Linked DNA regions of Homo sapiens: region 2 is linked to region 1. The links are contacts of gene promoters, found by promoter capture Hi-C in blood cells and fetal thymus (Javierre and others, 2016). All regions are on one chromosome and are shown on one strand. Each heading gives the region's core, a stretch centred on a gene start or on the middle of the fragment in contact. The rest is flanking DNA. Distances are from core to core; before and after follow the strand shown.

Region 1 (7,565 bases), core at 5,066-7,565:
TGGGCATCCAGCACTCGCCATGCCCCCTCCTGCCTTTGCATATGTGGTCCCATCACTATCCACCCTGCCTCCTATCCTTTTCCCATCAGCCTACCCAGGGAAGCCTTCCTAGGGCTCCAGGACTAGAGCAGACCCTCTGCCATGTCTGCCCATTCAAAGCTCTGCATTCTTCTTCTTAGTAACCTTAATGGTTGCACCTCCACGTTTATTCATGTGATTTCATTGCTGTCTGTGTCTTTACCAGACACAAACTCCATCAGGCAGACACAGGGTCTGTGCTGCTCACCATTGAATGCCCAGTACCCAGCAAAGTGCCTGGCACGTGACTATTGTTGCATGAATTTATCAGCAAATGAATGTAGCTCCTTAGCAAAATGGGGTGGGGGTGGCTTTTGGGAAGAAGGCAAGGTCATGTTATCCATACAGGATCCTTTCTGTGTCCGAGCCAGACTGTCCAAAGGGGCCCCTGCCAGGACCCCTGCCCAACACCCCGCCCTGAAACTCCAGAATCTCAAGTTTGCCAGGAGGAAGAACTCGTGGCTGGGGCAGAAGCAGAAGACAGAAGACATCGGTGGCCAAAACTTCCCTGGGGTGGGGGTTGTGGGGGGTGGGTATCAAGGAAGGAGATCAAGATCTGGAAGGTACCTCTGCCCAACAGAGGCTTCTCCTCAGCACCCCCCTTCTTTTATTTAAATTCAGGATTCAAAGGAACCCTGGCATTTATCTCCCAAACACAACACGGCAACCAGACATCTGGCTGTGATGCGAGCCCTGCACCACCCGCCCCCCGGCCACGCCCCCTATGGCTGCTGCCCTTTCTCCCCTGGAGCAGCTCACGAAGGCTGCACGCCCGCCTACAGCATGAGGAGACCCGGCAGAGCGCCATACCCCAGGATGGGCACCAGAGAACCGGGGACTGGGGAAGAGGAGATACCGGAAGAGAATAAGAGAGGAAAAGAGGGAGGGGGAAAAAAGTATGTGGGTGGAGAGGTGGGACAACGGGTCAGAGACCGAGGAAAGAAAAGGAAAGGAAAAAAAAAACTAAGAAAAGGAAGAAAAACGCATGAAGAGAAAAATTTGAAGGGAGAGAGGTTGGGGGTGGGGGAGAGAAAAGGTAAATGAATAGAAGAAAGAAAGGAAGAAAGGAATGGAGAAAAGCAAATGGGATAAAATAGGCACGGAATTGAACCAACCCAGAAAGGTGTAAATATTCAATCAATTCATGGGGCCAACTTTCTCTTTTTTTTTTCTTTTCTCTTTCTTTCTTTCTTTCTTTTTTTTTTTTTGAGAGAGAGAGTTTCGCTTTTTTGCCCAGGCTGGAGTGCAATGGTGTGATCTCGGTTCACTGCAACCCCCGCCTCCTGGGTTCAAGTGATTCTCCTGCCTCAGCCTCCCAAGTAGCTGGTACTACAGGCCCATGCCGCCATGCCGGGCTAATTTTTGTATTTTTAGTAGAGATGGAGTTTCACCATGTTGGCTAGGCTGGGGTCTCAAACTCTCGACCTCAGGTGATCCGACTGCCTCAGCCTCCCAAAATGTTGGGATTACAGGTGTGAGCCACCGCGCCCTGCCAAGCCAACTTTTAAGAAGAACTACACTGCCTCCAGACATCAGGAGCAGGGAGGGATATGACAGAAAAGCTGCCAGCTACCCAGCTGGGAGCTCACTCCAGCAGGAAAGATGGGGCTGACCCCTCACTTCTGACTACCAGAGAGCAGCAGTGAGAACTGGGGTCCCCTAACTCAACAACATCCCCCATCCAGTGCATTATTCTCAGCTGGGGCCTGGCTGGGACCTGGTGGGGTGGCTGGAGAGGGCTTGGGAGCTGGGGCCATGACAGACCTCGTGTCACCTGGGGCCATACCCCCAGCCCTTCTCTCTCCAGCTCCCAAGTTCTCCTCCTAGGACTGGGGTGGGGGTGGTGGAGGCAGCGGTCAGAGAATGGGGTGGGATCCGTCCAGGACTAGAAAACAAAGTTCATCTTCAAGAGCCTGGAATGAGGGCTTGTTCTAGGGGAGAATGAGGGGGAGGCTGGGCCTGGCTATGGACATTTGAGGGCTCGGGTCACCTGGAAAGAAAAGGAAAGGGGGAAGGAGAGCAAAAGAGGCAAATGAGATCCAGAAAAGGAGCTCTGGAGACAGAGGGGGATGGAGAAAGCAGCGAAGAAACTTGGAAGACAGAGGAGGGATGCAGGGGCCTGAAAGGAACGCAGGATCCGGGCTGGGAAGAAAGAGAAAGAGCAGGGGACAGATGCCTCTCTAGACTCCTGCCACAGCCAGACTCCTCCTCCCAGTCGCTGCCCTCTGACCTTGCTTCCTGGCCTCCCACACACTCCTTAGCCCACTCCAGTCCGGCTTCCTTGTCCATCTCTCCACCACAGCAGCTCACGCTGCGGGGATCAGTCACCACCATTCTGCTAAGTCCAGGGAACATTTTACTCCTTACCATACTAGTTCTCTCTGCAGCATATAACTCTCCTTCCTTCTAGTACCATCTCTTTCCTCTGCACTCATGACCCCCCAATCCCTCTCACCCAGCCCTCCTTCTCTGGCCACTCTTGCCCTATCTCCTCCTCCTCCACCCAGCCCTTACACCCTGAGGGTCCCCGAGGCTCAGTGCCAGCCCCTCCACACTCCCTCCCTCCATGCTTTCTCTGAGACAACACCATCCACAACCCCAGCTTCAGTTACCATCATCCTGGGACCCACATTTGTCTCTCCTCTGAACTCCTGACCCAAGTGCCCAAGGGTTTCCTCCGTATTTCTAATTGGATGTCTCACAGGCTTCAAACACTCAGCATGGACAAAACCTACTTCATCATCTTCCCCCTAACCCTGGAAAGGAAGGAAGGAGGGAGGAAGGGAGAGAGGGAAATCCTAGGAGGCTGGAGGACTTGGGTTTGGGGCTAAGGCATAGAAGAGCAGAGCTGTACCTGGAAGCTGAGGAACCTAGCAAAGGGCTCCGACTGTGCAATGCTAAAGCGAGGGAAGAAGAAGGGCCTGCACACACCCGGGGTCTATCCCCAGACTCTGCTCCAGGCTCCCTCAACAGGAACTGTGCAGGGCTCCATGATAGAGACTCATGGAGAGCTTCATCCTGGGGTCTTCACTGCACCCCCACTCTTAGACCCCGCCCTTCTGTCTCCTCAGACCCTCTCCTAGGAACCCCCTCTTTATCATCAGTCTAGGGCTAGAGGTGGGAGCAGAGAAGCGTTCTGGAGAATTGGAGTTGGGGGAAGAGCAACAGAACCTCAACTGGGGGCTGCAGCAGCTGGAAAGGGTGACCCCGATGTGCAGGGCAGGGGTGCATGCCCCCCACCAGGTGCACAACACCTGGGCTACCTCTTCCAGGTGTGTTCTCCTCCTTTGTCCCATACCATGGAGTCCAGATGGGGCACCTGAGGAGCTCTGAGGGTGGGGGCCTTTTCCCTCCTTCTTTGGTGTTGGAGGGGGGCACTTGGGGAAATTTGGAGAAGGAGAGAACTCAAGCTCAGCACTTTCCTCTTTCTGTTTTTCTTCTTAAGGAATTTTTTTTCCCTAACTGCTGATGACTTTACCATTTCTTGGGGGTGTGGGGAGGAGATTTTGGCTTTTGCTCCCCCCCACTTTAAGTGCCGGACAAAGTCTTACATTCCACAAGAAGCCAGAGCTTCAGAGTTTCCTAAAGATGAGGTGGCGTCTCCTCCTCTCACAGGCACAAGCTCCCTCCTCCTCCCACCCCCCATCCCCCCAGTCTGCAGCCCTCAATCCTGGCCAGGAAGGCCCAGCCAGGCTGGGAGGAGACCCCAAGCACATTCTTCCTCTCACTGTCATACTGCAGAAATTAAAGACACATCTTCAGCCTGGGCACCCGCCAAGCGTTTTAAGTCGAAGAGTGGCAGGGGAGGCCTTGAGCCTCAGCTCCATGCCACGTGTAAAGGATGCTTGGAAACTGTCTGCCTCGGCCCCTGGGAGGAAGGCCTGGAACTGGACATTGGGGTGGTGGCTGTCACACGCCAGGCACACAAAACTCCAAAGCCAGGGATCCCCAAATATCCTTCAGAACCCCAGGCCCATGATGTAGCAACCCCCAATTCACACCTTGGAGGTTTCAACTCTTCTTTAAGATGGGCGTGGGAAAGCCTGGATGGGAAACATATGGGGAGGGGCGGGGAGCTGCAGGCAGGAGCCCTTCTTACTACGAAAACCCAAGAAGCAAGGAAGTGGACAGGTCACTAACCCTCATACTACCAAGCCCTGCGGCACCCTGCCCTAGACCACCACTCTAAATGTCTGTTCCCTCCAAAAACAGGACCCCTGTCGCCTATTAGGGAGGGGTTCTCTTGGAACTGACCCACAGTAGGGGGCAGGACTTTGGTGGGTTCAAGAACTGCCATCTCAGCACCTCAGCCCCCTAGTCCTGCCCTGCAGTCGCTGGCACTAGGCGGGGGCAGACCCTGGGCCACAAGTTGCTGCCACATGGTCGGGATAATTGATGAAGGTCCATCCCTCCATTGCTGTCTCCAGCCCTGCCTCTCTGGAAACTCTATATTTTCCCTTTAATTATAGCCCCTGCAGTCTCCCTCTGCTGCCCCACCCGCACCGCTCATCCTGGCTGCCCACGGCCAGCCGGCCAGCCGACGTGGCTCCCTCCCCTTCTGTTCCTTTTTTTTCCCCTTTGCCTTCGTTGCACAAAACCAGCTGGGGGAGGGCGTGGAGAGGGGCGGGGGGAGGCAATGGAATCTTGGATGGTTTGGGGGAGGCGGGACTCCCCGCTTCCACGTTTGCAGCTCTGGAGCACCCGGGGTGGGGAGCTGCACAGGAGGGAGAGAAATGAACAGGGCACTGCAAGGAGACCCCCAGGCCTTCTCTCAGCCCTACAGAGTTTCTCAGGACGAGGTAGATTGGGGTTGAGGCAGAGCCTTGTTGGGGGAATGGGACATGGAGGAAGAAAGGACGTGGAGTTCTAGAGCCATCTTCCTTAGATATAGCCTGCTGTCCTTCGGGTCCCCAGACCCTTTCAGAGTGTACAGATGATTCTCTCTGGTTCCTAAGGCATAGAGCAATGACCGGGATTTTCAAGAAAGAGATGAGGCAGTGGGAAGTAGCCCCTAAAACAAAGTCAATCATCCTCTGCAGCCCATCCCACACCCCCAAAGGAAAGTTTCACCCAGACACCCAAAATATCCCATACATCCCCAACACTGAGTCCAGGTACAACTGGAGAAGGGGCTTTATGCAGCTCCCAGAAAGACACCCCTTTAGCTAAGTGCCCTCCCTCCACCCAGGTTCTCTCTGGTTTGACTGTGCTGGGAAGGAGGGTCTCTAAGCAGCCCCTGGCCACAGCCATGGCAAACAAAACTCTTCTCTAAGTCACCAATGATCACAGGCCTCCCACTAAAAATACTTCCCAACTCTGGGGTGGAAGAGTTTGGGGGATGAATTTTTAGGGGATTGCAAGCCCCAATCCCCACCTCTGTGTCCCTAGAATCCCCCACCCCTACCTTGGCTGCTCCATCACCCAACCACCAAAGCTTTCTTCTGCAGAGGCCACCTAGTCATGTTTCTCACCCTGCACCTCAGCCTCCCCACTCCATCTCTCAATCATGCCTAGGGTTTGGAGGAAGGCATTTGATTCTGTTCTGGAGCACAGCAGAAGAATTGACATCCTCAAAATTAAAACTCCCTTGCCTGCACCCCTCCCTCAGATATCTGATTCTTAATGTCTAGAAAGGAATCTGTAAATTGTTCCCCAAATATTCCTAAGCTCCATCCCCTAGCCACACCAGAAGACACCCCCAAACAGGCACATCTTTTTAATTCCCAGCTTCCTCTGTTTTGGAGAGGTCCTCAGCATGCCTCTTTATGCCCCTCCCTTAGCTCTTGCCAGGATATCAGAGGGTGACTGGGGCACAGCCAGGAGGACCCCCTCCCCAACACCCCCAACCCTTCCACCTTTGGAAGTCTCCCCACCCAGCTCCCCAGTTCCCCAGTTCCACTTCTTCTAGATTGGAGGTCCCAGGAAGAGAGCAGAGGGGCACCCCTACCCACTGGTTAGCCCACGCCATTCTGAGGACCCAGCTGCACCCCTACCACAGCACCTCTGGCCCAGGCTGGGCTGGGGGGCTGGGGAGGCAGAGCTGCGAAGAGGGGAGATGTGGGGTGGACTCCCTTCCCTCCTCCTCCCCCTCTCCATTCCAACTCCCAAATTGGGGGCCGGGCCAGGCAGCTCTGATTGGCTGGGGCACGGGCGGCCGGCTCCCCCTCTCCGAGGGGCAGGGTTCCTCCCTGCTCTCCATCAGGACAGTATAAAAGGGGCCCGGGCCAGTCGTCGGAGCAGACGGGAGTTTCTCCTCGGGGTCGGAGCAGGAGGCACGCGGAGTGTGAGGCCACGCATGAGCGGACGCTAACCCCCTCCCCAGCCACAAAGAGTCTACATGTCTAGGGTCTAGACATGTTCAGCTTTGTGGACCTCCGGCTCCTGCTCCTCTTAGCGGCCACCGCCCTCCTGACGCACGGCCAAGAGGAAGGCCAAGTCGAGGGCCAAGACGAAGACAGTAAGTCCCAAACTTTTGGGAGTGCAAGGATACTCTATATCGCGCCTTGCGCTTGGTCCCGGGGGCCGCGGCTTAAAACGAGACGTGGATGATCCGGAGACTCGGGAATGGAAGGGAGATGATGAGGGCTCTTCCTCGGCGCCCTGAGACAGGAGGGAGCTCACCCTGGGGCGAGGTTGGGGTTGAACGCGCCCCGGGAGCGGGAGGTGAGGGTGGAGCGCGGCGTGAGTTGGTGCAAGAGAGAATCCCGAGCGCGCAACCGGGGAAGTGGGGATCTGGGTGCAGAGTGAGGAAAGCACGTCGAAGATGGGATGGGGGCGCCGAGCGGGGCATTTGAAGCCCAAGATGTAGAAGCAATCAGGAAGGCCGTGGGATGATTCATAAGGAAAGATTGCCCTCTCTGCGGGCTAGAGTGTTGCTGGGGCCGTGGGGGTGCTGGGCAGCCGCGGAGGGGGTGCGGAGCGTGGGCGGGTGGAGGATGAGAAACTTTGGCGCGGACTCGGCGGGGCGGGGTCCTTGCGCCCCCTGCTGACCGATGCTGAGCACTGCGTCTCCCGGTCCAACGCTTACTGGGGCAGGAGCCGGAGCGGGAAGACCCGGGTTATTGCTGGGTGCGGACCCCCACCTCTAGATCTGGAAAGTAAAGCCAGGGATGGGGCAGCCCAAGCCTCTTAAAGAGGTAGTCGGGCCGGTGAGGTCGGCCCCGCCCCGGCCCCATTGCTTAGCGTTGCCCGACACCTAGTGGCCGTCTGGGGAGCCGCTAGCGCGGTGGGAGTGGTTAGCTAACTTCTGGACTATTTGCGGACTTTTTGGTTCTTTGGCTAAAAGTGACCTGGAGGCATTGGCTGGCTTTGGGGGACTGGGGATGGCCCCGAGAGCGGGCTTTTAAGATGTCTAGGTGCTGGAGGTTAGGGTGTCTCCTAATTTTGAGGTACATTTCAAGTCTTGGGGGGGCCTCCCTTCCAATCAGCCGCTCCCATTCTCCTAGCCCCGCCCCCGCCACCCCACCTGCCCAGGGAATGGGGGCGGG
Region 2 (7,565 bases), core at 1,289-3,788, 91 kb after region 1:
CTTGGTCTGATTCTGTCTCAGAGGCTAGTGGTAATAGTGGGCAGGGGGAGGCTGTAGGAAGGGGGTGGTGGCCTCTGACCTATAAGCTGGGAGGTTCCTGGCCTGTCTCCTGCTCTCTGCTGAGTTGCTTGGGGCAGGGATGGTGAAAAGAGCCCCCAGGAAGTCTCTGGAAGTGAGGAGGGTCCTTGGGCACTAACTGTGTGACCTTGGGCAAGTGACTCCCCATCTCTGGGCCTCAGGAGGTTGGGCAGGTCCGGGCCAAGGCTGAAATACTGAGTGGAGGAATGGTGGGGGAGGAGGAGGAAGCGCCTAATACCCCCAACCCTCATCTTTCCCAACCACACTCATTCCAAATTCTTGCTCTGGGGGTTCTGATCCATGGGCAGGTCACGGTGTGGGAGGCGGAGGCTCCACTCCAGGGAGGATTTGGAGCTCCACAGAGTACACCTGGGGCAAAAGGAGCCTGGGCGTGGGAGGCCAGGACTGGGAAGGTTCTGGGACTCTCTCCCTCACCCCGGACTCCTCCCCAGAGCCTGGGGCTCAGCAACTCTCATGACCGGGCACTGGTGAAGCGCAAGTTGAAGGAGATGGCAGCAGCTGCCGAGAAGGAGCGCAAGGCCCAGGAGAAGGCTGCGCGGCAGCGGGAGAAGCTCCGGCGCCGAGAGCAGGAGGCCAAGAAGAGCTAGGGGAGGGTGCACAGGCGCTGGCACCCGGCAGGGGCAGCCACTGGCTCCGCGGGCACAGGCCTCACCAGGGAGGCTGGACCTGGGCGCTGCACTTGGGCTAGCCTGGTCCCACGCTCTCAGGGGGGACATGCTCTCTCTTACCCTGTCACTTGGTCTAGACCCAGAGACCCCAGAAAGGGAGACCCCAGGGAGAGGGCCTAGTAATAAATCCTATTTTGAGGACTTGTTTGGCACAGAGTTCCTGGGGGAGGAGCAGATGAAGGGGAGAGGGCAGAGAGGCCAGGGCTGAGGCAAGTCTGGGAGGCTGGGTCAGGCTGTCCCATTGCCCTCAGGCCATCGTGGGGCTGGGGTGGAGGGGAGCTAGGAGGCCTGCCTGCCTGCTTGCCTGCCAGAGGCCCTGAGGCCGGGCCCCAGGGCTCAGAGCTGGGCTGGGCATTTCAGCAGGAGCCCATGTGGGAGCGGCTCCTCTCCACTCTTCCAGGGGGCTGTGTGGTGGGAGAGCTCTGTCCTGCTCCCCCAAGAGGCCAGTGGGCGCTGCAGCAAGTCGCACTCAGGGTAGACTCCCAGCCAAACTCCTCAACAGGAGCGCAGAGAAAGCAGCCTGGGGCGAGTGCAGTCTTTGCCAGGACTCAAGAGGGGAGGATGAACATCCCCTTCTCCCTCTCCCCTCCTCTGTCCTGTGGGTCCCAGGGGGCGAGATGACACCACACAGGTCTGCCTCTCAGGGCCCATTCAAGACCTGGTCTTTGACCCATTCTCCAAGCCAGGACTCCCTTCACTTCCTGCTGCTTCCTCAGAGGGCACCTAAGTCCTCTTTGGGAGCTGAGCAAACAGGAACTGATAGGGACAGAGGACACCACTTCCACCAGCCAAGGCCTAGGAGCTGCTGACCTGGTCAGCCCTCACCCCAGCCAGGCAGAGAGGCAAAACCTGGGGGTCCCCGGCAGCTACGAGATTGGAAAGGTTCATCAGCCCTCCCCCATCTGCCCCAGGCATTGTCAGGGAATCAGTGGGCTCAGAACTGGCAGGCGGTGCAAGCTCTGCTTCCCTGGGCCACACTGAGGGCTGGGGCCAGCTCCCTGGATGGGGGTGGAGTTTACCAGCAGCCTGGGGACAGCATGTGTCCTTTTTAGGAAATGTCCTTGGAGGAAGTGTTCATGTGTGGCGCTGGTCAGCAGCTAGTCCCGCTTCCAGGACACTGGTCAGAGTTACCGATGAGGCCTGGGGGCTCCCGCTTGGAAACCCCTCCAGCTCCTCCCATCTGCCCAGACAGAGCGGCAGATGGCACCAATGCATGCTGGCTCCCTCATTCCTGCCCAGGGGCTGTGGCTTACGGCCAGCACCCTGTACCTGGGACTCAGCCCTTATCCCCCCTCTGCTATCTGTGCTGGGAGAGGGGCTTCGGAGGGAAACAGATATGAGGACACTGGCACCATCTGGGCCTGGTGGCAGGGCCATGGGAGGTTGGAAGGCACCCACATCCTTAAAGCCATCAGTAGCTATAGTGGGTGCCCACCTGCATGTGAAGGGGAGGCAGTTCTCAATTTATTTCAATAAATCCTTATGATGTGCCAGTGACCAGAATTTCTGTCTGCTCCAGTTGTTGGGTTGGCCGGACTCTGCTGGGCCCTGAGTATGGTGGGACAACAGGTCTGTCACCAGGTGCTGGGCCATCCGGCGTTCTGAACAGATGGCTTTGCCCAGTGTTTTACTCACAGTCCTGAGCTGGGCCGGACGTCCCCGGTGCGTCATGTGGTGGTCACAGGGCACCGCAGTGTGCGTGTGTACGTGCGCACGTGTGGGTCCCCTCCCCCAGGGATGCAGCCAGGCCAGTCTCATTCAGTCTCCTCTTTACTGTGGGTGTGGGTGTCACTGTCACTGCCACAGCCACTGGGAGGGACACACAGCTTTAACCCCTGTGTGCTTAGGGGAAGGGTGGGGGCATTCAGGGTTATAAAACTAACTATATACACAGAAGGTCCTAGGGAGAAAGCCACCCTGAGCACACATGTCTGGGCACAGTGGGGGCTGGGGGCTGGAGCTCAGGCAGGATGGACTAGGCTTGTGGAGGAGCGGGTGGGCATGAGCATGTGAGGACATGCTGGGAGGGCTCAGGAGGTGGCACAGACATTGCCAAGGCCACTGCAGGGCCTCGAGCAGCTTGGCTGGATGGCAAGCTCTCGGTCTAACAAGGTTCTTCCACTTTAGAGTTGGGCCCTGTGAGAGCCACCCCCTCCGCCACCGACCTTCAAGCCCTGAGCGGAGGGAGAGGCTGCAGGACCAGCCTCATTCCCCACTCACGGGTGTAACTCCTTTCCCCACTCAGTCCCCAGGTCTGGAGGGCACCCACCCTCTTCCTAACACTTCAGCAGGCCAAGGCCAGGGTGCCTTTGTGGGCTGGGGGAATAAGGCAACGGGACATCCACTTGGAAGGCCTGTGCTGTGGAGGGTGCTGAGGGGGACCCAGTACCCCTGGCAGAAAAGTGACAGCCCTGGTCTCAGAGAGGAGGACTGCCATGGGAAAATGTCTCTGGGACACCCCATCAGGGTGGAGACATCCCTAACCCTCAGGCATCGCCCACAGAGATAGGGAGGCCACCGAGGGGTCTCCACAGAGATGGACTGGCACTTAGGGACCATCACAGACCTATCACCGCAGTGACTTCCATAGAGACAGAACCTGGTCATCAGGGAGAACCCACCCCCTGCTCCCCCAGGAGGATGGTGAGGGGCACCACGGTGGGGGGACCCAGAGGCGGCAGTCCGTCCTCTCAGGTGCAGATGCACGGCGGCCCTTAGCTGACGCGGTACGTGGACGTGTTCTTGGGCTCCGTGCTGGGCACACACCAGTCGCCGGCCTCCTGGATGGTCTGGTAGTGGCGCCAGGCTGACTTGTTGTAGACAGGCAGGCGCTCCACCGAGTCCGTGGACAGGGCCTGGGGAGTGTCAGGGTCAGCCCCTCCCACCTCCCTGTGCCTTGTCCACTCCTCAGCAGACCACCCCACCCCAGCTCAGCGGCAGCCCAGCTGCCAGACACGGGGGCCTGGAAAGACCACAAAAGGGTGGTCCCTCCTGTGTCCCGCTCCTGCCCATTCAAGCAAGCAGCTCCCTCTAAGGGAGGGAGAGGGAGGGGGAGGAGGCTGGGCTGTGTGACCCTGAGCAAGTCACGGACTCCGGGCCTCAGTCTTCTCCTCTGAACTGAATGGCAAGACCTAGGGTGTCCCCTTCCTTCTGGGTCTAACAAGTCAAGGGTTCCCAGCACAGGGGTCTTAATCATAGACCACAGACTCCCCTAAATTCCCTGACAAGCAGTGCGTGTCTGGGGGTTGAGGGTTCTTCAGGTTGAGGAACTGTAGCTTTGCTTGGATTCTCAGAGTCTGGGGCCAGGGAAGGACTGGGGGGATGGAAAGGAAAGCTCGCAGCTGGCCAAGGCTGCCCAGGTCCTATCAGCAAAGCTCTTCTCCAGCTGGGCTCTGCGGGAAGGGCCCTCACCTTGAGATAGATGACAGCATCGGTCCCAAAGCCTTCCATGGAGAAGAGCTGCAGGTCTCCCTGGAAGTACTTGGCGTAGAGGCGGGAAATGGGGAGCCCATAACCAAAGCCAGCCTGCAGCGGGGCAGGAAGGCAGTGAGGATGAGGAGGCTGGCAGGGGCCTCCTGGAGCTGCAGGGACTGATGCAGGGAGGGAAGGGTGTGGAGCTGGGGTCACATGGCAGGGGTCCCAGAGCTGGGAGGGGACATGTGGGAGGGGACACTGAGGTAAGAAGTGTGTGTGGGGTGAATGGGGCAATCATGAATGCGGGAGGGAGGCTTGGGCAGAGAGAGGAGTTCCGCTCAGGGGCCAGGAAGTCAGAGCAGGCCCCACGGCTCCTTTGAGTCTCAAGTTTTCTAACAGGGAGGTGCTGACAAGTTGGACAACACCAGGAGAAAGGTAGAAATTGGGGGTTTGGGAGCTACAGAAGAGAGGGAAGATGGAGGAAAGGTGACAGAGAGACATCCGACAGGTGAGATCTGTGCAGACTGGGGAGATGTGGGAGGTGCGGGGGCCCAGATTCAAGACAGGTGACTGTCACAGACGGCCACACAGAAGCTGAGTGAGCAGGGAGATAAGGAAGTGAGTGAGGAGAGAAGCCTCCCTCAGGAGGTGGGAGGGGCTGGGGTGAAGCCATCTCACCAGCGGCGTTCCCCCGGTGCCAGGCTGGGGGGTGGGTGCTGTGGAGTACATGTAGCTGAAGAGTCGCTCAATCTTCCTCAAGGGAACACCCCCACCTCGGTCACTCATCTGGGAGAGATGGGATGTGTCAGGGATTCTTTACAGCTCATTTTCCCCACCCCGCCCAATACCCCTGACCTTCTCATGGTCTTCCCCACCCCCAGGATCTGCCCACCATGTAGGAGAAAAGGAAAGCCCGTCTCCTGGCAGGAGGGAAGCCCCCACTACTGCTCCCTGGTCCCCAAGGTCAAAGGGTCACATACCTTGATGGACAGATCTTCCTCACCCAAGGCCACCATGACCTTGATGGGTGGGAGAATGAGGCTGGACTCATGGCTTTCCACAGTCGCCCTCATGGCATTCTGCGGAGGGGCAGAGGTAAGAGATGCATGGGAGAAGCCAGCCCTACTCACGCTCCCCGCAAAGCACCGGCTCCCAGCCTCCTCACCTTGAAGAGCTCAAAGAGCATGTGGTAGAGGTGGGAGGGGACGTAGACCATGTGAATCGGCTGTTTGGAGTTGGCTGCTACAGGGCAAGTCAAGACCAAGGGTCAGGAAACCGTCAGGAGGTCACTGCTCAACCACCTTACCCAAAGGAGGCACCCCCTCCCACAAAGTTCTGAGTACATGGCTGCCCAGCGAGAGACTAAATCCCCAGCCTCCCTTGAGCTGGGGTAGCTGGTGACTCATGGAAGTGATGCATTCAATTCTTGGGCCCTGCTTTCCACACCCTTGTTCCCTTCCTCCAGGCTAGAACTGAATCAGGGGTGGGGAGCCAGCCCTGACCTGTCCAGCAAGGGGCTGGCGAGAGGGAAACCTCCCTCTTAAGTAAGCCACTGGTATTGGGGTTCTAGGAAAGCAGCCAAGCTGATACACCATCTAACATGCCCCTCCTCCCTACCCCTGTTGAGTTACCCCATTTTATTTCCTTCCCATCACTTGTCATGATCTGAGATGGTCTTGTTTATTTACTTGTTAATTGGCTGAAGGCTCCATTCCGCAATCTCCCTAGCACCAAAAATGTAAGGTCCACGAGAATGGGGACCATTTCTGTCTTGCTTACTCTTTCATTCATTCATTCACTCAATTTCTTATTTGTTTGAGATGAAGTCTCGCTCTGTCACCCAGGCTGGAGTGCAGTGGTAGCATCTCAGCTCACGGCAGTCTCAGCCTCCCGGGTTCAAGTGATTCTCCTGTCTCAGCCTTCCAAGTAGCTGGGATTATAAGCATGTGCCATCATGCCCGGCTAATTTTTGTATTTTTAGTAGAGACAGGGTTTCACCATGTTGCCGAGGCCGGTCTCAAACTCCTGACCTCAAGTGATTGGCCTGCCTTAGCTTCCCAAAGTGCTGAGATTACAGGTGTGAGCCACTGTGCCCAGCCCAAATATTTATCAAATGAATTAATAATATAATAACTCTGCTTCTCCCCTGTCTAGAAAACAGTCCATCTCCTGACTCCCCGTCTCACCTTGCCCTGCCACGTCCCCAGCCCCAAGACAGACACATACACAGCCCCGCTCACTCACCATTGATCTCCTGGATCTCCAGGTCAGGTGAGGCCATGTAATACTTGTCACACAGGAGCTTAGCCATGTCGTAGGCATCTGAGAGAAGATGGGGTCATTCAGGGCATGGGTGGCCCACCCAGCAGGCAGTCCTCCTGACATTGATACTGGGGACCACCAGCATTAAATCCATGGCACCCCTTACTGAGGAACGAGTCACCCTCTGGCCAGGTAAGCTTGGAGGGGTCCCCGGGGCTTCTCTGCGGGCCAGGCACCGTGGGAATGGCTCACCTTTGACCACCTCAGAGACGTTGCAGTTGGGGTCGATGCTGCCGATGTGTTTGGGATGGGCTGGGTTGGTGCTGCCATCAAAGATGAGGGCTGCAGGCAGGAAGGGAGGATGCTGTTGGCTGGGCTGCAGTCTGTCCCAGCGCTCCCTCTTCCCCCGGGCTTTCCTCCTCTTTCTACTTTCACCTCCAATGCCTCTGTAGGCTCCAGTCCTAAAGCTGCCCCACTCCCCCGCTTCTGTCCTCCCTTCCCTGACCCCTGACCCCTCCAGCCCTGGCTTAGGCCGTTTTTAAACCTTTGCAAACCTGAAACAGACGTCTTTTCAGAGGTCTCTCCCCACATCACATCTCCACATTGCATTTATTCTTTTCTTTGACTATAACATTCTAAGAGAACTCTTACCACCTTGCTTTGGAAATTATTTGAGCATGAGGAACTTGTTTAATTTATGACTGGCTACAACTTCTCAAAAATCATAGTGAATCCTCCTGGAATAAGAAACTCTAAACAACAAATTGTTTTTGAACATAATGAGAGTTTTTATAAATACTAAATTAAACATTCTTTTAAAGATGTGACATAATTTTACATTTTGCAAACACTGAAAACAAAACGTTTTGAAATGGAAAATCAATGAGAAAGAAAAATTTTATTTTTCCATGTTGGAGCCATTAACTCCATAGTTACTGGAGTAACTATTCAAAGACTCCCTTTGTGGGGTTCTGAAGAGTGGTCTAGGTCCCCTCAGCAGCCCGGCCCTGGGCCCCAGCACCGCCCCCCCCACCGCCCGCTCCCCGCCGCTGTGGCCGGCACCCACTGTGCTGGTTGATGAGCATGCGGATGGAGATGCGGCTGAGGTAGAAGCGGTCCAGG

Evidence for each region. Contacts are between HindIII fragments. The CHiCAGO score rates a contact against its expected background, and 5 or more counts as called.
Region 2: a fragment that was not itself captured here is called in contact with the fragment with the promoter of COL1A1 in region 1 in 3 of 17 cell types (M0 macrophages, M1 macrophages and M2 macrophages); the score reaches 7.7 in M0 macrophages.

What each region holds. Positions count from the first base shown.
Region 1 is chr17:50,200,381-50,207,945 of GRCh38, reverse strand. It overlaps COL1A1 (collagen type I alpha 1 chain), which reads left to right and starts at 6,315. Exons shown (of 51, transcript NM_000088.4): 1 at 6,315-6,535. The coding sequence starts at 6,433. RefSeq lists an enhancer at 1,721-2,222 and a silencer at 7,051-7,100. The HindIII fragment of the contact is 2,253 bases long and covers 5,515-7,565 here.
Region 2 is chr17:50,106,014-50,113,578 of GRCh38, reverse strand. It overlaps PDK2 (pyruvate dehydrogenase kinase 2), which reads right to left. Exons shown (of 11, transcript NM_002611.5): 4 at 7,510-7,565; 5 at 6,696-6,785; 6 at 6,426-6,503; 7 at 5,347-5,423; 8 at 5,162-5,260; 9 at 4,860-4,967; 10 at 4,179-4,292; 11 at 1,427-3,622. The coding sequence ends at 3,482. It overlaps SAMD14 (sterile alpha motif domain containing 14), which reads left to right. Exons shown (of 10, transcript NM_001257359.2): 10 at 531-3,539. The coding sequence ends at 686. Among named protein-coding and RNA genes, the nearest start is that of PDK2-AS1, 7.4 kb to the right of the region's middle. RefSeq lists enhancers at 411-1,096, 1,097-1,782, 5,113-6,312. The HindIII fragment of the contact is 8,208 bases long and covers 1-6,642 here.